Linked DNA regions of Homo sapiens: regions 1, 2, 3, 4 and 6 are each linked to region 5. The links are contacts of gene promoters, found by promoter capture Hi-C in blood cells and fetal thymus (Javierre and others, 2016). All regions are on one chromosome and are shown on one strand. The core of a region is centred on a gene start or on the middle of the fragment in contact, and the rest is flanking DNA. Distances in the headings are between cores, read along the strand shown. Region 1 overlaps SPIRE1 (spire type actin nucleation factor 1). Region 2 overlaps SPIRE1 (spire type actin nucleation factor 1). Region 3 overlaps LOC105371998 (a long non-coding RNA gene). Region 4 overlaps SPIRE1 (spire type actin nucleation factor 1). Region 5 holds the start of SPIRE1 (spire type actin nucleation factor 1). Region 6 overlaps PRELID3A (PRELI domain containing 3A).

Region 1 (3,359 bases), core at 611-3,110, 170 kb before region 5:
CCTTTGTGGTTGGAGACGGACACACTGCAGAGCAGCAGTAGCTTCGGAAGTACAGGCATATCAGGCACAATGTCTCTCTAGTTGCTGTTTTCCAGGGAGACAGCCTCTAGACTTCTAATACCCCAATTTAATGGAATGTAAATATGTCTCAGTGTGTATTTTAGCAGCTGGTTTTAAAGGAATAATTTTTATTTACAACCCAAAAGCTCAATATTAAAAAAAAATGACGTGAAGGAAAAGTACTTATTTACATCCCAAGCACACATTAGCAAGATGTCAGAATCATATGTAGATGTTTTTAGATATACACACGTCAATAAAGGGGATATGCATGTTAGATGTGGCAAATAAATCAACTATTATTTAACAATCATACTTACTGTTCAAGGACTGGGAAATAATATTTTAAGTATTTTCATCCTAATGTATAGTATGTTTTAAACAGGCATTTTACTGTGTTTTAATTATCTCATAGGAAATTGATTAGGGATTTTGTGTTGATAAGAATAATCTTCCTTGGGTCAGGCGCGGTGGCTCACGCCTGTAATCCCAGCACTTTCGGAGGCCGAGACGGGTGGATCATGAGGTCAGGAGATTGAGACCATCCTGGCTAACATGGTGAAACCCCGTCTCTACTAAAAAAAATACAAAAAATTAGCCGGGCTTGGTGGCGGGCTCCTGTAGTCCCAGCTACTCGGGAGGCTGAGGCAGGAGAATGGTGTCAACCTAGGAGGCGGAGCTTGCAATGAGCCAAGATCGCACCACTGCACTCCAGCCTGGGAGACAGTGCGAGACTCCGTCTCAAAAAAGAAAGAATAATCTTCCTTGAACTTATCTCGGAAAAGTTTTCTAAAAAGTAAAGAAAAAAAACATCTTCCACTCACCATTCAAAAAACCGTACTTCTAAACTCCTATATTACCTACTCTAGATTGTCCTAATTATGTATAGCAAATAAAGTATTACATATTATCACAGCACTCTTCCATCTTCTCTAATATCTTTTTATTCTGCTCTTTTTTTCTCTAGCACTTGAATATATCTTTTGAAATAAGGCTGACTACTGTGTTAAGAAGGGGATGCAATTATTTCTTGGGAGATGACATTTATATATTTTCCAATCTCTATATCAAAAAGAGGACAAAAATTGAGGATGTCAATTAAGATGTTTAGAAGAAAACAAATGATCAGAGACATGAACAAAGACTGATGTACAAGAATAGTAATTTCAGACTTACTAGGAAAAAATAGAAAAAGCTTGTGAATCAGGAAAATAGGTAAATAAAACCCAATTTAGCCATCTGTTAGGAGATCACATCCTTATAAATCGTATTTGGAGTCATATTTAATGACATAGGAAGATGGTCATGCCAAATAAACCATTAGATGCAGATAACAAAGTACTGTATATACACAGTTTTCATCCTCATTTTGTAATGCACAAGTAAATTCACAGTGGATGCCTCCGGCTGTTGTTATTATGGGTAACATTTTCATCTTTAAACATTCAGGCATTTTTGCCATTGCTGCATTGAGCTCCTACTTGCAATTACATGTAGGGGAAAGTGATACAAATATTTAGGGAAACTTTTCTTCAAGTTAATTCTGCCAATATTATCAGAACTGAACTCCCCAAAGCAAAACTGTATAGTAAGAACCAATGTAGTTCTGTAGAAAAAATGACCAAAATCCCTTACTTTACAATTAGGGTTTAATATCCATTTGAACTCGGAATTCTAGAAGTAACACTCTCACAGAACAATATCTTTCTGTAACAGCTCAATTCTGGTGGTTGTGAAATACCAATTGTCAAGGTTAAAATAAAGACATACTTAACATAAAAATGTTATTTAATTATTCTAAAGTAGGGTTCCCATTAGCAACTACATATAATTTTAAAAAGTGAAACTGAAGAATATGGCTTGCTATGAGAGATTGAATCACTCATCAAAAAGCTCCCCAACAAAGGCAGGTTCAGGACCAGATGGATTCACTGGTGAATTCTACCAAATATTGAAAGAAGAATTAATGCCAATCCCTCTCAAGCTCTTTCAAAACACTGAAGATGAGAGAACACTTCTAATTTTGTTTTACGAGGCCAAAACCCCCAAAATTACAGGCTAAAATCCTTAATGAATATAGATTCAAAATTCTGAACAAAATACTAGCAAACTGAATCCATCAGCACAATAAAAGGATCATACATCATGACCAAGTGGGATTCATCCCTGGGATGCAAGGACAGCTTAACACATGAAAATCAATTAACATGATACACCACCGTAACAGAATAAAGAATAAAAATCACATGATCATTTCAAATGCAGAGAAAGCATGTGACAAAATTCAACACCTTTTCAAAATAAAAACACTCAACAAATTAGGAATAGAAGGAAATTACCTCAACATAATAAAGGCCACATATGGAAAGCTGACAGCTAACATCATACTCAATAAGGGAAAACTGAAAGCTTTTCCTCCAAAATCAGGAACAAGGCAAGGATGACCACTTCTATATTCAACATAGTACTGGTAGTTCTAGCCAGAGCAGTTAGGCAAAAAAAGAAATAAAAGGCATCCAATTGGAAAGAAAGTAATAAAAGTGTCCCTGTTTGCAGATGACATGATCTTACAGATAGAAAACTCCATAAAAATTTTTTTCAATACACTAACAACAAAAAGACAATCCCATTGACAACAGCACCAAAAAGAATAAAATATCTAGGAGTAAATTTAATAAGGAGGTAAAAGACTTATATACAAAAACTATGAGACAGAAACAAATGGAAGAATAATATTCATGAATTGAAAGACTTACTGTTAACATGTGAATACTACCCAAAGCTATATACAGATCCAATAGAATCCCCAAGAAAATCCTAATGGTATTTTTTACAGAAGTAGAAGATAATCCTAAAATTCCTATGGAACCACAAAAGACAATGAATAGCCAATCAATCTTGAGAAAGAATAACAAAGCCAGAGACATCACACTTTCTGATCTTACAATATATTATAAAGTTACAATAACAAAAACAGCATGGTACTGGCAAACAACAGTGGAACAGAACAAAGAGTCCAGAAATGAACCCACACATATACAGTCAACTGATCTTTTTTTTTTCTTTCTTTCTTTCCATGGAATCTTGGTTCACCCAGGCTAGAGTGGAGTGGTGCAATCACAGCTCACTACAGCCTTGATCTCCTGGGCTCAAGTGATCCACTCTGAAGCTTTGTCACCAGAAAGTACATTTAATTATTTCAACCCATGAGAGTACTCTGTACAGCCCAGTGCTGTACTAGGGACACAACAACGAACAAGACAGACATGGGCCCTGTCATCACGAAGGTCACACAACAG
Region 2 (3,385 bases), core at 407-2,906, 150 kb before region 5:
TCTGGAGACCCATGAGTTAGTAAGTGCTTTTGCTTTATGCGGCTGTGATTTTGTAGTGGTTAGTTACACGGTATTACTGTGACCACAGCTGACTGAGATAAGGCCACTTGCCAGCTATTTGACACGGAGCAAGTTGCTGCACCTTTCTGAGCTGTAGTTTCCTCATCAATAAAGAAAGTGGTACTTTATCACTTGTTGAGAAGATCAGAATCAGTAGATGGTGTTCTATACATAGAAAATACTAAAAAAGGCTGGGTGCAATGGGTCACACCTGTAATCCCAGCACTTTTGGAGGCCAAGAAGGGTGGATCACCTGAGGTCAGGAGTTCGAGACCAGCCTGACCAACATGGTGAAACCCTGTCTCTACTAAAAATTCAAAAATTAGCTGGGTGTGGTGGTGTGCGCCTGTAATTGCAGCCACTCAGGAGGCTGAGGTAGGAGGATTGCTTGAACCCGGGAGGTAGAGGTTGCAGTGAGCCCAGATCGCACCACTGTACTCCAGCTTGGGCGACACAGTGAGACTCTGTCTCAAAAAATAAAAAAAAAACATAAAATAATACAAAATCTATTTATATTTGTATTATACTTTAACTCTTTTGTTCTCCTGCCTATAATGTGTCAAAGTCTCTACTTGAGTGAAGTCCATCACAATATTTAGCTAAAAACCTGTAACTTGTTAAAATTAACAAGTGACATGGCTGAGCGCAGTGGCTCATGCCTGTAATCCCAGCACTCTGGGAGGCTGATGTGGACAGACCATGAGGTCAGAAGATCGAGACCATCCTGGCTAACATGGTGAAACCCCGTCTCTACTAAAAATACAAAAAATTAGCCGGGTGTGGTGGCACGTGCCTGTAGTCCCAGCTACTCAGGAGGCTGAGGCAGGAGAATCGCTTGAACCTGGGAGGCGGAGGTTGCAGTGAGCCGAGATAGTGCCACTGCACTCCAGCCTGACGACAGAGTGAGATTCCATCTCAAAAAAATAAAAAATAAAAAAAAAATAAAGTGACACAATAGTTACTTAAATATATTTGCTGTAAAATCAAGTGATATATTTCATAAGAATCTTCTATGTAAAATAACTGATTAAATTTCTCAAAACATCCTCAATAACGATTCATAATTTTAAAAAAATGTTGGGTTTGGACAATAAGAAGCTACCAAAAAATATAAAAACCATACCATTTCCCATCCTCTTGTTCCAAAAAGGATTTGAGGTACTTATGGTGTACCATTAGATGCCTCCTAAAATATTCATATTTAAAAAGATTCTTAGATTCTGCCATTAAAGATGTTCTAAAATAATACCCCTAAAATATCCATATTTCTCTCAGGAATGCTTTTGTCCCAACTTCCACATTTCTCTTATTCATTCCTTTAAGATGCAGTTCAAATATCATCTCATCTTTTAAAAGTCTCCCTTTGGGCTTTAAATTAGGAGACAGGAGACAGTTACCCACATTAGAAACTTTTGCTATAATTTATAAAAGGATTCAAACACACTTGGTTTTTTTTTTTTTTTGAGACGGAGTCTTGCTCTTGTCGCCCCATGTTGGAGTGCAATGGTGCAATCTTGGCTCACTGCAATTTCTGCCTCCCGGGTTCAAGTGATTCTCCTGCCTCAGCCTCCTGAGTAGCTGGGATTACAGGTGCCCGCCACTATGCCAAGCTAATTTTTTGTATTTTCAGTAGACACAGGTTTCGTCATGTTGGCCAGGCTGGTCTTGAACTCCTGACCTCAAGTGATTCAGCCGCCTTGGCCTCCCAAAGTGCTGAGATTACAGGCGTGAGGCCCTGTGCCTGGCCCACACTTTGTTACATAGTCGGTTTTGTGTGCATGATTGTTTGGTTAAAAAATTTTACATACTACTTTTCAGAAATTAAAGTCACAGTTATTATATAAAATAACAGACAACTGTCATCATATGCATTCCTGGAGATTATAATTTATCCCTTATCCCATTAGGGAAATTCTGAAACTAGAATCTGCTAGTAAAGACATTCTAATTCTCTCTTAACTCTTTGCTCTTTTCATTCTAATCTTTCTGGGTAATTCACTTAGTGGTCTTATGAGGAGGAAGCTGGTGATCTACGCAAATATAACTCCCTCTGGAGTTAGTGCTTCTCTTGTCAGGGATGACACTAGTTTTCAAATGAAGGTGGCTTATAGTAAGAAATTAAATTTTTACTTTAAGTTTATACTAGCTGTTTGCTAACTTCTGAACACTGGAAGTTATTTATCTGGTTTCAGTGGCTGGGAAAACCAATTTAAAATTTATTGGCCAAGATGATATACACTTAGAACAACACTATCCAAGTATTCTTCATAAAGGAAAATCAATAATCAATTTTATTCTAAAATGACAAATAATACCAGCTTTTAAGACAATGTAGGCAAGTATTTTTGTTTTGTCTTGAATGTTACAAATATCTTGAAGATATCTATCAATAAATTAAGAATATTGCAAACAAGAAACAACCCAAATGACCAGCAACAGATGAAGAGATAAACTGCGATATATTCACACAATGGAATACTTCTCAATACTCTACAGATACAGACAGCAACATGGATGAAATCTCAAAACAATTATGAAGAGTGAAAGAAGCCAAACCAAAAACAGTACATACCAGCTGGGTGCGGAGGCTCATACCTGTAATCCCAGCACTTTGGGAGGCCAAGGCGGGCGGATCACCAGGTAGGTCAGGAGTACGAGATCAGCCTGACCAACATGGTGAAACCCTGTCTCTACTAAAAATACAAAAATTAGCTGGGTGTGGTGGTGCGCACCTGTAATCCCAGCTACTCAGGAGGCTGAGGCAGGAGAATTGCTTGAACCCAGGAGGCGGAGGTTGCAGTGAGCCGAGATCACGCCACTGTACTCCAGCCTGGGCGACAGAGCAAGACTCCATCTAAAAAAAAAAAAAAAACTAAAAAAACAGTATATACCATATGATTACATTTATATAAAATTCTAGAAAGTGCAAACTAGTCTATAGTCACAGAAAGCAGATGACTAATTGCCTAGAAACTGGGGAGGAGGGAGGCAGGAGGTAGGATCATAAAAAGGTATGAGGAAACTTTGGGTGTGATAAATAGGTTCATTATTTTGATTGTGGTGATGGTTTCATGGCTGAATATATATATGTACAAAATATATGTCAAAATTTATCAAGTTATGCATTTTAAATATGTGCAGCTTATTGTATATCTATTATATCTCAATAAAAGTTAGAAAATAATGTGACAATTAAAACCTAATATGGTCAAAAGCAACCCATTCATATGATAATGGCATGATTTATCTAGCATTCTTAACCTAAAAAGTCAGAATCCTAAAATGTGCCTTCCCCCAATACCTGGACTTCAACAATCTTCTTTTT
Region 3 (3,451 bases), core at 320-2,819, 220 kb before region 5:
TTTTTTTTTTTTTAAAGTTAGCCAGGCATGGTGGCATGCACCTGTAGTCCCAGCTACTTAGGAGGCTGATGAGGGAGGATCGCTTGAGCCCAGGAGCTCAAGACTTCAGTGAGCAGCTTTGCACCACTGAACCACTGCACTCCAGCCTGGCTGAGAGTGAGACCCTCTCTCTTAGAAAAAGAAGTGACTGGGTGGGCATGGTGGCTCACGCCTGTAATCCCAGCACTTTGGGAGGCTGAGGTGGGCGGATCACCTGAGGTCAGGAGTTTGAGACCAGCCTGACCAACATGGAGAAACCCCGTGTCTTTATACAAAATTAGCCGGGCGTGGTGGCAGGCGCCTGTAGTCCCCAACTACTCGGGAGGCTGAGGCAGGAGAATCACTTGAACTGGAGGGAGGGGGGTGGGGAGCGTGGGGAGGCGGAAGTTGCAGTGAGCCGAGATCGCGCCATTGCACTCCAGCCTGGGCAACAAAAGCGAAACTCCATCTCAAAAAAAAAAAAAAAAAAAAAAAAAGGAGTGACTTTTCTGTAGAAGCTGCATTGCTCGTTAGGCTCTCCTGTGCAGACGTGGGCTCGCTCCCTCCTCGGCCACGCTATTCCCTAGAGGCTCCACACAATGTCTGCTCACGAGCCTGAGGTTCAGGTTAGAGCTGCAGAAATCCTCATCTTTGGCTTTCTACTCTCCTAAAAACTCTTGCTGCTGGGAGGAATTGGGATGTGAAGCTTTCTGCTGTCACCCTAGGGAAGGGGGTTAGGGATGGAGGCAGATCAGGGACAACAGATAGACGATTGCTGCAGTCAGAAGGCAGCCCCAAAGCAAAGAAGAATGTATACAAGACGGGCAAGCTTCAAGTGAGCCGCATGCCCTCGATTCACAGACAACCTGCCTCATTGCAGCAGCTGTGACCATTCCCAGCACGGGACCCACAGTGTCTGGCCCTCTTGGTGCCAAAAGAAATCTGAATACTAAGCTGTGTCAAACATGCAGATGCTTCTTCAGCTCTCAAGCCCTGAGGACATAAACTTCCAGATGCCCCACATTTCCGGAGCGCTGTCCTGTCAGTTCTGGAGCGCTTGCTGTCACTGCTTCCATCAAACGGGCTCCGAGGCAGCCACCAGTATCGGGAGCACAGCTGCAGTGCCCTGCACGGCAATGGCTAACATACTAGACACCATGTGTATGTTAACAAGATGAGCTGGAATAGTGGTGAAAATTCAGTCTTCCAGGTAACTGCATCTGAACTTTTTTTTCCACCCAGGCTGGAGTACAGTGGCGCAATCTCGGCTCACAGCAACCTCCGCCTCCCAGGTTCAAGCGATTCTCCTGCCTTAGCTTTCTGAGTAGCTCGGACTACAGGTGCGCGCCACCATGCCCAGCTAATTTTTGTATTTTTAGTAGAGACGGGGTTTCCTCATGTTGGCCAGGTTGGTCTTGAACTCCTGACCTCAAGTGATCTACCCACCTCAGTCTTCCAGAGTGCTGGGATTACAGGCGTGAGGCACTGCGCCCGGCCTGCATCTGAACATTTGATTCGTGTAGGCAGAGGCCTTTTCTTTTTTTTTTTTTGAGATGGGGGTCTCGCCATGTTGCCCAGTCTGGTCTTCAACTCTTGGATTTAAGCAGTCCTCTCACCTCGGCCTCCCAAAGTGTTGGGATTACAGGCATGAGCCACTGTGCCCGGCCTAGAGCTTTATATTAAGGTCTTAGCTCTTAAAACTTTTTTGGGTGGGCAAAGGGAGAGGTTTCGCATGCCTTTGGCTAATAGGAGGGAAGCACCACGCCTTTTATTAGCATTATAATCAATGTGTGTGTGCATGTGCCTGGTGCGAGCACTTGCACATTCTGCAGCGATATCAGGAGTCTTTATTTATTTGAGACTGGGTTTCTCTCTTGTTGCTCAGGCTGGAGTGCAGTGGCATAATCTCAGCTCACTGCAACTTCCGCCTCCCGGGTTCAAGCGATTCTCCTGCCTCAGTCTCCTGAGTAACTGGGATTACTGGCACCCACCCCCACGCCAGGCTAATTTTTTGTATTTTTAGTAGAGACAGGGTTTCACCATGTTGGGCAGGCTGGTCTCGAACTCCTGATCCACTCGCCTTGGCCTCCAAAATGTTGGGATTACAAGCATGAGCCACCATGCCTGGCCAAGGAGTCTTTAAATAACTCGTGTGTGCAATCAAGCCCTTTCCTAAAGATAGTTTTCTTTATGAAATTGTAGACTGTGATTTACAACTGTACATCTTTTCCTCAACTGGAGCTGGTAAGAAAAAAGTTAAATATGTGTTACCCAAAGCTTTTCCTACTTATGGTATCCAAATTCTTTGTATATCTGCAATACAGGAAGCACGAGTCAAAGATTATGACTTGGACTTAGTCACTGGACATGTGGATTATGAGTTGGACACATACACACAAGTATCTTGACATACACATATCACAGAGGAACTTCAGAGGAAGGGGCTCCTAAGAAATGTCTGGCAACTGAGGGAACAGGTTATGTAAATGGATTAATATAAAACTCAACTTTATATAATGTGTAAGATATTTAGAAGGTAAACCATGCATTCTTAGTTAAGATAAAAACACAAGAACTTTCCTCTGCTCGTATTTCAGGAATACGTCTGCTGAGGGACACGTTCTACAAAACAATGAAGTTTGCTGCATCAACTGCATTTTCCTTTCATGAAAAATTTCTCTGTACCATGCAGTGGTGTTTGACAGCATGTTACCCACAGTAGAATTACTTTCAAAATCTGAGTCAATCTTCTCAAACCCTGCCGCTGCTTTATCAACTAAGTATGCACTACTGTAAATCTTTGATCACTTCAACAATGTTCACAGCATCTTCGCTGGTAGATTTCCTCTTAAAAAACCACATTGCTCATTCACAAGAACCAATGCCTCAGCAATTTACGTTTTCTCATGAGACTGCAGTAATTCAGTCACATCCTCAGGCTCCATGTCTAATTCTAGTTCACTTGCTAGTTCCACCCCATCTGCAGTTACTTCCTCTACTGAAGTCTTGGAATGAACTTCTTCCAAACTCCTGTTCATGTTGCATTTTGACCTCCTTCCATGAATCACCAATGTTTTTAATGGCATCTAGAATGGTGAATCCTTTCCTGAGGGTTTTCAATGTGCTTTGCCCAGATCCATCAGAGGAACCACTGCCTGTGACAGCTAAAGCCTTATGAAGTGTATTTCTTAAGTAAAAGTAAAACTTACTCCTTGATCCATGGGCTACAGAATGGATGTTGTGTTAGCAGGCATGAAAACAACAACAGTCTCCTTGTACAACTCCATCAGACCTCTTGGGTGACCAGGTGCATTGTCAATGAGCAGTAATATTTTGAAAGAAATCTTTTTTTCCGAGCAGTAGGTCTCAACAGTAGGCTTAAAACGTTCAGTAAACCTTGCTGTAAACAAATCTGCTGTCATCTGCCGAGGCT
Region 4 (3,393 bases), core at 890-3,389, 200 kb before region 5:
TTTTTTTTTTTTTTGAGATGGAGTCTCGCTCTTTCGCCCAGGCTGGAGTGCAGTGGTGCGATCTCAGCTCACTGCAAGCTCCACCTCCAGGGTTCACGCCATTCTCCTGCCTCAGCCTCCTGAGTAGCTGGGACGACAGGCGCCCGCCACTGAGCCCAGCTAATTTTTTGTATTTTTAGTAGAGACGGGGTTTCACTGTGTTAGCCAGGATGGTCTCGATCTCCTGACCTCATGATCCACCCGCCTCGGCCTCCCAAAGTGCTGGGATTACAGGCGTGAGCCACTGTGCCTGGCTGGGAACAGTCATCTTTTATACAGTGTTCATGATTAGTAAAAACTTCATAAATTAACCAGTATTTGAAAATTACCCAAAATAACCATTGCTTTTTGAGTTTTTAATAAACCAAAGAGAGGCAAATTTAAATAAAAACAGCAACTATTAAGTTTACTCTTCTTAATCAACTACAAAACTCAAAGTGAAGGCCAGGCGCAGTGGCTCACGCCTGTAATCCCAGCACTTTGGGAGGCCGAGGTGGGCGGATCACGAGGTCAGGAGATGGAGACCATCCTGGCTAACATGGTGAAACCCCGTCTCTACTAAAAATACAAAAAAAAATTAGCCGGGCGTGGTGGCAGATGCCTGGAGTCCCAGCTACTCGGGAGGCTAAGGCAGGAGAATGGCGTGAACCCAGGAGGCGGAGCTTGCAGTGAGCCGATATCGCGTCACTGCACTCCAGCCTGAGTGACAGAGAGAGACTCCATCTCAAAAAAAACAAAAACAAACAAACAAAACTCAAAGTGAATCCTTTCTTTGCCTAAAGTGGTATATGGCCTTAGTGTTCAGATATCTCTGTTTGGGGAGAATTGATAATCAAATGCCAGCAGGTCTTCAGTAGAGGCAGGAGTGACAGGAGTTAAAAAGCCACCGTGGCACCTGACCACGTGCTGCCCAAGAGCACATCTAAAACGGGAAAAAGGACAGAGGTTTTTCCTGCATTTCATGACAAAGATCAGAGAAAGGAATGTTTTGTGTCTTATTTACATTGAGTCTCCTTTCCATATCAAGATGACTAAGAAAGAGTAACAAAGAAACCAGCTGCGGGGTCATCTGTCAAGGACAAGGTTAGTAAATCCAAGGCTTTAGAGAGCCAGGCCCTGCCTACTGTAGCACAAAGGCTGCTCTGAGCACCTGCTACGTGGTGGCAGAAGAGGCTTCAATATGGTCGTAGAGCTTTTTATTTCACGTAGAATTGTGAAGGTTCAAATAATGATATATTATTCTGTGTAAAAAAACCTCAAAAAACAGTAATATAATGCAGAATTATTTAAAATAGCCACATCATTAAAAAGGAAACTTGAAATTTCTCTTTGCAGAGAAGTGACGTACACACCCTGGTTGTCATAACACAGCTTCATGACAGGTGATGGGAGCACACAGGTTTCCTGAGCCCATGCCCTGGTTGTGCAGGTGTCTGTGGGTGGGCGGAGTCCACCATGGCTACCTGGCCTGGCAGGAGGATGCTCTGCTCACGGAATGAGTGAGCAAATACTCTTCTGATGGTGGGGGGAGGCCCTAGGAGGAATGCACCCCACGGGCTCAGAGTGCCTGCTGCACATGGAGAAAGGTGGCAGCACTGACTCTGCTATACAATTAGGTCACCCGAGGAGACAAACACCCACAGGTCCCCTTCATCAGATGCTGCATTTTGAGTTTGTTGTCCTTTCCCAGTTATTTCCCTCAACTGAGACCACGGCATGATCGGTGCATCCTGCACAAGGGTGGAATCAATGATTGGAAGCAAAGTGCTATCTAAGCGGTTAATTCTCAGAGAACGCAACAGTTGAGGTGTCACCGTCAGAGATACAGAGAATGAAATAATCCCAGACCCAGCAGAAAGAGGCCAACCTTTGAGGATTTCCACCTGCTGGTAAAAGCTCTCTCACACAGATAATACATAGCCCCTGCTACCCCAAACATGGCTGCTTCAAAAGGATGAGAGCTGAGCAGAGAAGCTGTTTGTATGGTAGAAAAAAGTGGTCGAAAAGGCGTCCTTGGCCATACACTGGTTATCCTAGGAACCTGAACAACAGATAAGGGAAAAAGAAAATGGCAGGGGGAAAAGAAAAGGAGAAAATAATGCTGAACACAAGTGACCTACACATAGTGATTACAGATCACAAAAGGAAAACAAAACAAAAAACACCATGAGGCTGGTACAGTCCGTGCGAACATCTGCATCCACACGTATAAATCAGTGATGAAACCACGAAGTCCTTCCTGGAGAATCTCAGCGTTCACACAGCAAGGATTTTTCTAATTTAGGGTCCTGCAAACACTCTGAGTTTCCTCAGTGGGGCTTGTTGTGATGAAGGATAGAGGCAACTCGTTACTGTGCCTGAGAAAGCATGGGGACATGTGCCAGGCAGCCACTTGCACCTGCCCCAGGAAGGTACTGCCAACACGAGGTGCCTTTAGACTGGATGGGCATTTGCCCTCGGTTATTTGACCAAATGATGAAAAAAAATGACATTTTAAACATCACAAGAAAAGGGAGGGAGATACAACAAAAATAAAAATTATCAGCCGGGCACAGTGGCTCACGCCTGTAATCTCAGCACTTTGGGAGGCCGAGGCGGGCAGATCACCTGAGGTCAGGAGTTCGAGACCAGCCTGACCAACATGGAGAAACCCCGTCTCTCCTAAGTATACAAAATTAGCCGGGTGTGGTGGCACATGCCTATAATCCCAACTACTTGGGAGGCTGAGGCAGGAGAATCGCTTCAATCCGGGAGGCGGAGGTTGTGGTGAATCGAGATTGAGCCATTGCACTCCAGCCTGCGCAACAAGAGCGGAACTCCATCTCAAAAAAAAAAAAAATTATCAACAATAAAAACATTCCTGCCATTTTCAGTTGAGGAGTTACAAATACAAAATGATTCTTTGTTTTCTAAAATGCAGCTACATTTAAAAATTAATTACACTTATAAAAACAATACTTACCAAGCTATAGGGCATTACTACAAGGTATGATTTTATGGATTTCCCAAGATAAGCTATTAGCAAGGAAGATCATTTCGTCTCTGCTGGTGCTTGGAGGCCTGCGTGGACTCTGCTCCCTGCCCTCAATCTGACCACTGTTCAGTGCTGAGCAGAGCGGCTCTCCCACTGCCTGCTCACTGAGACCTTCCTCAGTGATTGCAAGTTAGTTTATCTTGCTCTCCTTCCTGCTCCACAAAAAAACAGTGCACGGCCTGACCTCGCAACACTAAGAGCTCTGCTTTAACAGGAAACAGACACAGTCATGGGCCCTTGGGGTCAGCTGAAGGTCTCAGCATAACTTCTATTATAAGCTGAAACTACCTTGTAGCTAAGCTGATAGTTCCTTTACATTG
Region 5 (3,383 bases), core at 177-2,676:
ATGGGAGAAACCTTTTCTCAACCTCCTCCTCCTCTTCAATGAGCATCTGAGTAAACCCTGGCTATAAATTACTGTTTAGGTCATAATCCTGAAAATTTTACATTAGACAATGACGTAACTAAGGCCCATTTTCTCTTTGTATCCCGACATCCTGTCAACTTTTCACTTTACAAGCCTGTTTTTCATCACAACAAATTTTCACATACAGGAATGCAATCAGTATTTTCTAACGTCCAGGAGCCAAAAATCACTATTTAGTCTATTTTTCCATTTCTCCCCAAAGAGCAGAATTCTCACGGTTCAGAATCATCTTTACATTTCCGAACCGAGGAAAGGCTGTCTAATGTGGAATACTGCTAGTTTCCCGTGAGGAGTGCGGTGTTTCCGACAGCGGCACTGAGGATCCGTGCGGAGCCCCCGCGTGAAGCCTGCGATGCCCTCCCCACCCCGTGAACCCGGCCGTGTGTCAGCAGCCACGGCGTGAGGCGCACAGGCCGCTGGCCCGGAGCAGGGCCCAGCCCACCGCTCCCAAACGCGCCGCGGGCAGCTGTCCCGCGGGCAGCACAATGACGAGCGCCCCGCGGCCCGCAGGCCCAGGCCCACCCAAACGTCCTCCGCACAGCGGATTTGCGCCGTCGCCCGCCACGAGGCTCTGACCTCCGAGGGGCCCCGGCCAGCCACGGCCTGACGCCGTCCTCCCCTGCGGGTCCCCGCCGGATCCTCCCGGGGGTCTCCCGTGGCAAAATGGGGGGGGACGGCGGGGGCGGAAGGGCCGGGGACGCTGAGGGTAAGGCGGCCCAGCCGCGGGTGTTCCAAGAACTACGAGGGAAAGGGGCCCGGCGGCCTCACCCGCAACTGGGGGCGGCTCTCCCGCGTCGTCGGCCGCGGGCGCCAGGGTGACGGCGCCGTCCCTCCAGACGCGGATCTGCGCGGCCGAGCGCACACGGTGGCGGGGCTGGCGGCGGCGGGCGGCGGCGCGCAGGGAACCGCAGCACTGGTAGCACACGGCCCACGCCTGCTCCTCGTTGATGGGCTGGTTGTACAGCCGCAGGATCTCCTCCAGGCTCAGCGCGTCCCGGGAGCCCCCGGCCGCGCCGCCGGCTGCCCCGGGCTCCCGCGGCCCCTCGCCGCCCACTGCCTCAGTCCGCGGCTCCCCGCCGCCCGCCGGGCCAGCCGCCTGAGCCATCCCGCGGGTGGGCGCTGCGCTCGGCAGTCGCGCCGTGTGCCGGCGTCTCCTCAGCTCCGGAGCATCGTCGTCGCGCGCCGCCGCCTCACCATCCCCGGAACCGCCGCCGCCCAACGCGGCCGCGCGCGCCGCCGCCGGGACCAGGCGAGTGCCCGGGAGGCGTGGGCAAGAGGAGGGCGGCGAGGACACGGCTGCAGTCCCGGTCAGACAGCCGCCGGCCGGTAGCGACGCGATGGCGTCCGGCGCCCCGCCCCGCCCCGCCCCGCCTCGCGCCGTCCAGCGCCGCCCAGCGCCCGCCCCTTAGGGGGCCGCACGGGCCGGGGGATGCACGCTCTGGAGGTGAGGACCAGGCAGGAGGGCCTCGCCTCGAGGCGAGATGGCCGCACGGTCTCTAGCCCGCAGGGCTCTCAGAGTCGCAGGCGGTGACGCCCGGTCGGGGGGCCCGGTCGCAAGGGACACACAGCTGGGGGCGCAATGGTGAGGGCGGCGACGCACGGTCCGGAGGGGATGCGCGGCCGGGTAGGGCGTGCAGGGTTGTGGGGCGTGGGGGACACGCGGGGCCGGGCGCGCGGTCGGGGGGCGCAGGGGCAAGAGGGTGTCGCATTTATCAGGGAAGTCCCCGGCCGACTCTGGCGGGGAACTGGGCGCGCCAACCCGGGTCACCGCCCTGCACAGCGGGAGAAGTCACCCGCATTGACGTTCCCTAGGCGCTGGATCGCCGAAGGTCTGGTTGAAAACTTGAACCCGCCTGGAGCGGATGCCTAAGAAAATGCAGGCCCGCTGAAGCCTCCCCGCCGGGCCCTGGGCCCTGAAAGCCTCCGGCAGTTTCCCGTGACCCCGCGGCCGCTCTGCGCGTTTTCCGATTTCTTGCTGGTTGAATACCTCCCTCTCCACTCCCATCTTCAGGGTAAGCACCGTAAAGACGGGGATCTTTACGGGTTTTCCTCACTGACTTCTCCCAAAAGCTAAACCAGCGCCTGGAATATAAACATGTACATAATTTGCAGGTGTTAGTTTTAGCGTCCTTCCGGATTCATTTGTAACATTGGTCCCTTCCCTCACTAAGGTAATGTCTCAAGTACCACACTCATCAGAGCATGTGGAATGAATATCACAGTGGTAAAATTGAACTGAGGGCAATTAGCCGTAGAAAGAAAGAATTCCGCCCCCCCAACCTATTAAATATGCAATAAAACAGATAATTCTTAATCACCCATTGGTAGATTAATTTAATCGATAAAATTCCACTGAGGCTAGTCCTGTGTGAAAGCCCTACAGAGTGTTGAAAGCATCAACCAAATAGGCAATGTATATTAAGTTCCAGTAAACCTTTTACGGCAGTTTTATGTAAAATGTTAGAAATCACGCTCTCAACAATTGCATCTTGCGGTAGAAACTACAACAGTCTATTTAAATAACAACAGTCTATTAAAATGAGATACCATCTTACATACAGCTGGGAATGGGGAGGAGGGAGAAAAGCAACAGGACGAAAAGGAAAATTAAGAAATTGAAAGAGGGCCGTGCGCAGTGGCTTAGGCCTGTAATCCCAGCACTTTGGGAGGCTGAGGCGGGCAGATCACTGAGGTCAGGAGTTCGAGACCAGCCTGGCCAACATGGGGAAACCCTGTCTCTACTAAAAATACAAAGAAAATTAGCCGAGTGTGGTGACGCACGCTTGTAATCCCAGCTACCCGGGAGGCTGAGGCAGGAGAATCGCTTGAACCTGGGAGGTGGAAGTTGCAATGAGCCAAGATCACACCACTGCACTCCAGCCTGGGGGACAGAGCGAGAGTCTGTCTCAAAAAAATAAATAATAAATTGAAAGAGGAGAAGAAAGCTCCCCAGGCAACTTATTATAATTTCAGTACGAGAGAGACAAAACAACCCCTTAAAGTAGCATCACTTAATTATAGGTTCATAATCTCATTTGTAGCAATGCAGTATCTATGTGTGCCAAAGCCCAGAGAGGCAAACATGTAATTCCTTATGTGTGACACTATATACATATAAATATATCTCTGTCCTCTTGATTAAAAACAGACAAACATTCCCAAATTTTGCTATTTCAAAAGTTTATCCTGTGTGGATTTTGCAAATACAGACTGGTTTAAAATATTTTGAACAATCCAGGAAAAAAAATGAAGGTCTACTTTTATGGACAACACTACCACCTCCTGGCCTTATGGGATACTGC
Region 6 (3,881 bases), core at 730-3,229, 240 kb before region 5:
CTGGACAAACCTCTCTGGGCACTTCTGAAGAAATGATGATCTTGTCAGAGAATGTTTGTCCTTGCAGGAGGCTCAGAGGCTTCCTGGGAGAGAGCACACCTTGAAGGAAGGGTGGATTAGGACAATTAGGGCAATAAAGTGACTTGCTAGCAACCCCTTAGCAGTCCGGGGGAAGGTCCATGCTGGACAGGTGTGGTGGCCCCTCACTTGGCTCCCTTCAGACGTGTGTCTGACCCTGCAGGTTTCAGGCCTAAACAAGTGCAGAGCTCTGGAAAGCAATGGGTGACTTGCAACCACTCTGATGGCAGGAAATAAAACAAGGGGAGGCTGAGTGCGGTGGCTCATGCCCATAATTCCAGCACTTTGGGAGGCCAAGGCAGGAGGATTGCTTGAGGCCATGAGTTCGACATCAACCTGGCAACATAATGAGACCTAAAAAAATTGTTAAAATAAAAAGTTGGGCTGGGCACGGTGGCTCACGCCTGTAATCCTAGCACTTTGGGACGCTGAGGCAGGCGGATCACGAGGTCAGCAGTTTGAGACAAGCCTGGCCAACATGGTGAAATCCCGTCTCTACTAAAGATACAAAAAAAAATTAGCTGGGTGTGGTGGCGGGCACCTGTAGTCCCAGCTACTAGGGAGGCTGAGGCAGGAAAATCGCTTGTACCCGGGTGGTGGAGGTTGCAGTGAGCCGAGACAGAGCCATTGCACTCCAGCCTGGGTGACAGAGCGAGACTCCATATCAAAAAAAAAAAAAAAAAAGTTGGCCAGGCGTGGTGGCTTATGCCTGTAATCCCAGCACTTTGGGAGGCTGAGGCAGGCGGATCACTTGAGGTCAGGAGTTCCAGACCAGCCTGGCCAACATGGGGAAATCCCATCTCTACTAAAAATACAAAAATTAGCCAGGTGTGGTGGTGGGTGCCTGTAATCCCAGCTACTAGAGAGGCTGAGGCAGAAGAATCACTTGAACCCGGGAGGCGGAGGTTGCAGTGAGCTGAGATCGTGCCACGGCACTCCAGCCTGGGTGATAGAGTGAGACCCCATCTCAAAAAAAAATTAATTAATTTAAAAAGTTAGGCCGGGCGTGGTGGCTCACGCCTGTAATCTCAGCACTTTGGGAGGCCGAGGCGGGCAGATCACGAGGTCAGGAGATCGAGAGCACGGTGAAACCCCCTCTCTACTAAAAAATAGAAAACAATTAGCCAGGCATGGTGGGGGGCGCCTGTAGCCCCAGCTGCTCCGGAGGCTGGGGCAGGAGAATGGCGGGAACCCGGGAGGCGGAGCTTGCAGTGAGCTGAGATCGCGCCACTGCACTCCGGCCTGGGTGACAGAGCAAGACTCCGTCTCAAACAAAAAAGTCATTCAGGTTTGGTGGCACACGCCTGTAGTCCCAGCTACTGGAGGTGGGGCAAGAGGAGGCTGAGGCAGGATGTTCACTTGAGCCTGGGAGGTTTGAGTCTGCAGTGACCCTGATGGCACCACTGCATTCCTGCCTGCTGGGCGACAGAGTGAGACCCTGTCTCAGACAAACAAAAACCAAGGGGCTGCCAGGTGCCGAGGCGTGCAGGTGCTGAGCCGGCGGCCGGGGAGGGCTCGCGGGACTCCTCAGATTTGTCGGACCAGCCTTTCATTAAAGTGAAGAGACTAGCGCGTTGCCCAGGCCTGGCGGCGGCTTTTCCTCCCCTTCACCCTTGCGGCCCCGGCCCCGGCGCTTGCTCACCGCCGCCTATGCTCTCCCCGCAGCCACCCGTGGGACACGGTCATCCAGGCGGCCATGCGCAAGTACCCGAACCCGATGAACCCGAGCGTGCTGGGCGTGGATGTGCTACAGCGCCGCGTGGACGGCCGCGGCCGCCTGCACAGCTTGCGCCTGCTCAGCACCGAGTGGGGGCTGCCCAGCCTCGTGAGAGCGGTGAGCGGGGCGGGGGCTGCGGCTCCGAACGCGCCCGACTCCCCCACTCCCGCCCCCGCCCTCTCCCGCGTCCCTCCTCCCCTCATCAGTGCCTCTGCTGCTTTGGCTGCCATCGGGGTGGGAGGGCGGCGGGGGGCCTTTCCTGAGATCAGGGGGCGCGGGGTGGGGGTGGCGGTGGGGGGAACTTCCCCGAGATCAGGGGGCACGGGCTGGGGGGCTGGTGGGAGGGTTTTCCTCGAGATCGGGGGGCGTGGGGTGGGGGGTCGGTGGGGGGGGATCTTCCTCGAGATCGGGGGTCACGGGGTGGGGGGACGGTGGGGGGGTCTTCCTCGAGATCGGGGGTCGCGGGAGGCTCTGCCTGGCGCGTGGCGTCTGGCATCCCCATCTGTCCTCCCAAAGGGCCCGGGCCTGCTGGATTAGCACTGCCAGGCGCCCCTCCTCCTGGTTTAACCGCCTCTAAAGCCCAGCGTCCGCAGCCAGCCGCATCCTAGGGCACCGGGATTAGGCTTCACCATGGTTCAGCCCCCCGTGGCCTCTTCCTCAGAGCCAGGGAGGTCGCTGGAAATGCAAATCTGAGCACGGCTCACCCCAACCCGGCCCCTGGATCTCGCCTCCACCTGCAGTCCACACCCTGGCCTGGCGCAGGCCTCTCAGTCAGCCCAGCTCCTGCTGCAGGGGCCTGCACCTGCTGCCCCCAGCCTGACACCCCCACCCCAGCACTATGGTGGTACCTTCCTCTTTGGGGCTCTGCCCAGACTCCGCCCGGCAGAGGGGCCTCCTAGCTCCACTGCCCGCAGCCTGTTTTATTTTGCCGGGAGCATAGTGCTGCTGCACGCTCCACTCTGTTGGAATTCATTTCTTTGCTCAGTGGCTCACCTGCTGGAGCGGAAGCGCCCTGGACACAGGGGTTTTGTCTCTGTCCCTTGCTGCATCCCATGATATCATTTCTTGAATAGTGAACTAATTAGTAAATGCAATGGTATTCGGTGGTGATATGAAGTAGAATTTTTAACGTTCCACTATGCTAGTTTTGCTTTGTTTTCTAGATTTTGGGAACCAGTAGGACATTGACATACATCCGAGAACATTCTGTGGTGGATCCAGTGGAAAAGAAAATGGAACTTTGTTCTACCAATGTAAGCAATGGCCTCAGATGAGAAACGGGCTCAGTGTGTCTGGGTGGTGGTGCGTAAGGCCTTCGTTTAATTCTATTTCCAGCCCACCTTTGGTCTAGGTGTTGCTTATTTTTAACAGAAAGGCTGAATTCATTTAGCAGTTTATCTTTTTATTCAAGTATAATAAGTATATAGAAAAATGCACATAATGATGAATTGTCACAAAGAACGCACCTCTTAACTAGCAGGCAGTTCAAGCAACAGAATTTGACCAGCCCCTGAGACCCCTTGGGCACCCCCCACAGGATAACCACTGTCCTGACAACCAGCAGACGTTTTTGTTTTTTTAAAGATGGGGTCTTGCCCTGTCACCCGGGCTGGAGTGCAGTGGTGTGGTCATAGCTCAGTGCAGCCTCGCACTCCTGGGCTCAAGTGATCCTCCTGCCTCAGCTTCCCAAATAGCTGGGACCACAGGCACGTGCCACCATCCCTGGCTGTTTTTTTATTTTTATTTTTCACAGAGATAGGATCTCGCTGTTGCCAAGGCTGATCTCAAACTCCTGGTCTCAAGTGATGCCTTTCAACGTGCTTTTTTTTTTTTTTTTTTAATTTTTGAGACAGTCTCTCTCTCTCACCTAGGCTGGAGTGCAGTGGATCTCAGCACCCTGCAACCTCCACTTCATGGGTTCAAGCGATTCTCCTGTCTCACCCTCCCAAGTAGCTGGGACTACAGGTGTGTACCACCAACAGGCATTTTTTTTTTTTTTTGAGATGGAGTCTCACCCTGTCGCCCAGGCTGGAGTGCAGTGGCGTGATCTCGGCTCACTGCAACCTCCGCCCCCTGGTTTCAAGCC

What was found. Contacts are between HindIII fragments. The CHiCAGO score rates a contact against its expected background, and 5 or more counts as called.
Region 1: a fragment that was not itself captured here is called in contact with the fragment with the promoter of SPIRE1 in region 5 in 4 of 17 cell types (M0 macrophages, M1 macrophages, M2 macrophages and 1 more); the score reaches 16.4 in M0 macrophages.
Region 2: a fragment that was not itself captured here is called in contact with the fragment with the promoter of SPIRE1 in region 5 in 3 of 17 cell types (M1 macrophages, M0 macrophages and M2 macrophages); the score reaches 11.4 in M1 macrophages.
Region 3: a contact is called between a fragment that was not itself captured here and the fragment with the promoter of SPIRE1 in region 5, in 5 of 17 cell types (M0 macrophages, M1 macrophages, endothelial precursors and 2 more). The highest score is 12.5, in M0 macrophages.
Region 4: a fragment that was not itself captured here is called in contact with the fragment with the promoter of SPIRE1 in region 5 in 5 of 17 cell types (M1 macrophages, M0 macrophages, M2 macrophages and 2 more); the score reaches 21.1 in M1 macrophages.
Region 6: a fragment that was not itself captured here is called in contact with the fragment with the promoter of SPIRE1 in region 5 in 11 of 17 cell types (M2 macrophages, M1 macrophages, megakaryocytes and 8 more); the score reaches 19.5 in M2 macrophages.

What each region holds. Positions count from the first base shown.
Region 1 is chr18:12,488,385-12,491,743 of GRCh38, forward strand. The region is part of intron 8 of SPIRE1 (spire type actin nucleation factor 1); the gene reads right to left. Among named protein-coding and RNA genes, the nearest start is that of PRELID3A, 82 kb to the left of the region's middle. The HindIII fragment of the contact is 1,214 bases long and covers 1,254-2,467 here.
Region 2 is chr18:12,507,168-12,510,552 of GRCh38, forward strand. All of the region lies in intron 5 of SPIRE1 (spire type actin nucleation factor 1), which reads right to left. Among named protein-coding and RNA genes, the nearest start is that of PRELID3A, 100 kb to the left of the region's middle. The HindIII fragment of the contact is 5,609 bases long and covers 1-3,385 here.
Region 3 is chr18:12,440,778-12,444,228 of GRCh38, forward strand. It overlaps LOC105371998 (a long non-coding RNA gene), which reads left to right. Exons shown (of 6, transcript NR_136514.1): 5 at 2,616-2,798. Among named protein-coding and RNA genes, the nearest start is that of PRELID3A, 35 kb to the left of the region's middle. The HindIII fragment of the contact is 1,448 bases long and covers 846-2,293 here.
Region 4 is chr18:12,457,849-12,461,241 of GRCh38, forward strand. All of the region lies in intron 12 of SPIRE1 (spire type actin nucleation factor 1), which reads right to left. Among named protein-coding and RNA genes, the nearest start is that of PRELID3A, 52 kb to the left of the region's middle. The HindIII fragment of the contact is 7,794 bases long and covers 1-3,393 here.
Region 5 is chr18:12,656,681-12,660,063 of GRCh38, forward strand. It overlaps SPIRE1 (spire type actin nucleation factor 1), which reads right to left and starts at 1,427. Exons shown (of 17, transcript NM_001128626.2): 1 at 850-1,427. The coding sequence starts at 1,186. It also overlaps a transcript of PSMG2 not described here. RefSeq lists silencers at 847-966, 1,157-1,576, 1,446-1,614, 1,617-1,686, 1,737-1,886. The HindIII fragment of the contact is 7,532 bases long and covers 1-3,383 here.
Region 6 is chr18:12,418,582-12,422,462 of GRCh38, forward strand. It overlaps PRELID3A (PRELI domain containing 3A), which reads left to right. Exons shown (of 7, transcript NM_001142405.2): 2 at 1,744-1,912; 3 at 2,959-3,048. Among named protein-coding and RNA genes, the nearest start is that of PRELID3A, 13 kb to the left of the region's middle. RefSeq lists a silencer at 1,903-2,052. The HindIII fragment of the contact is 6,008 bases long and covers 1-3,881 here.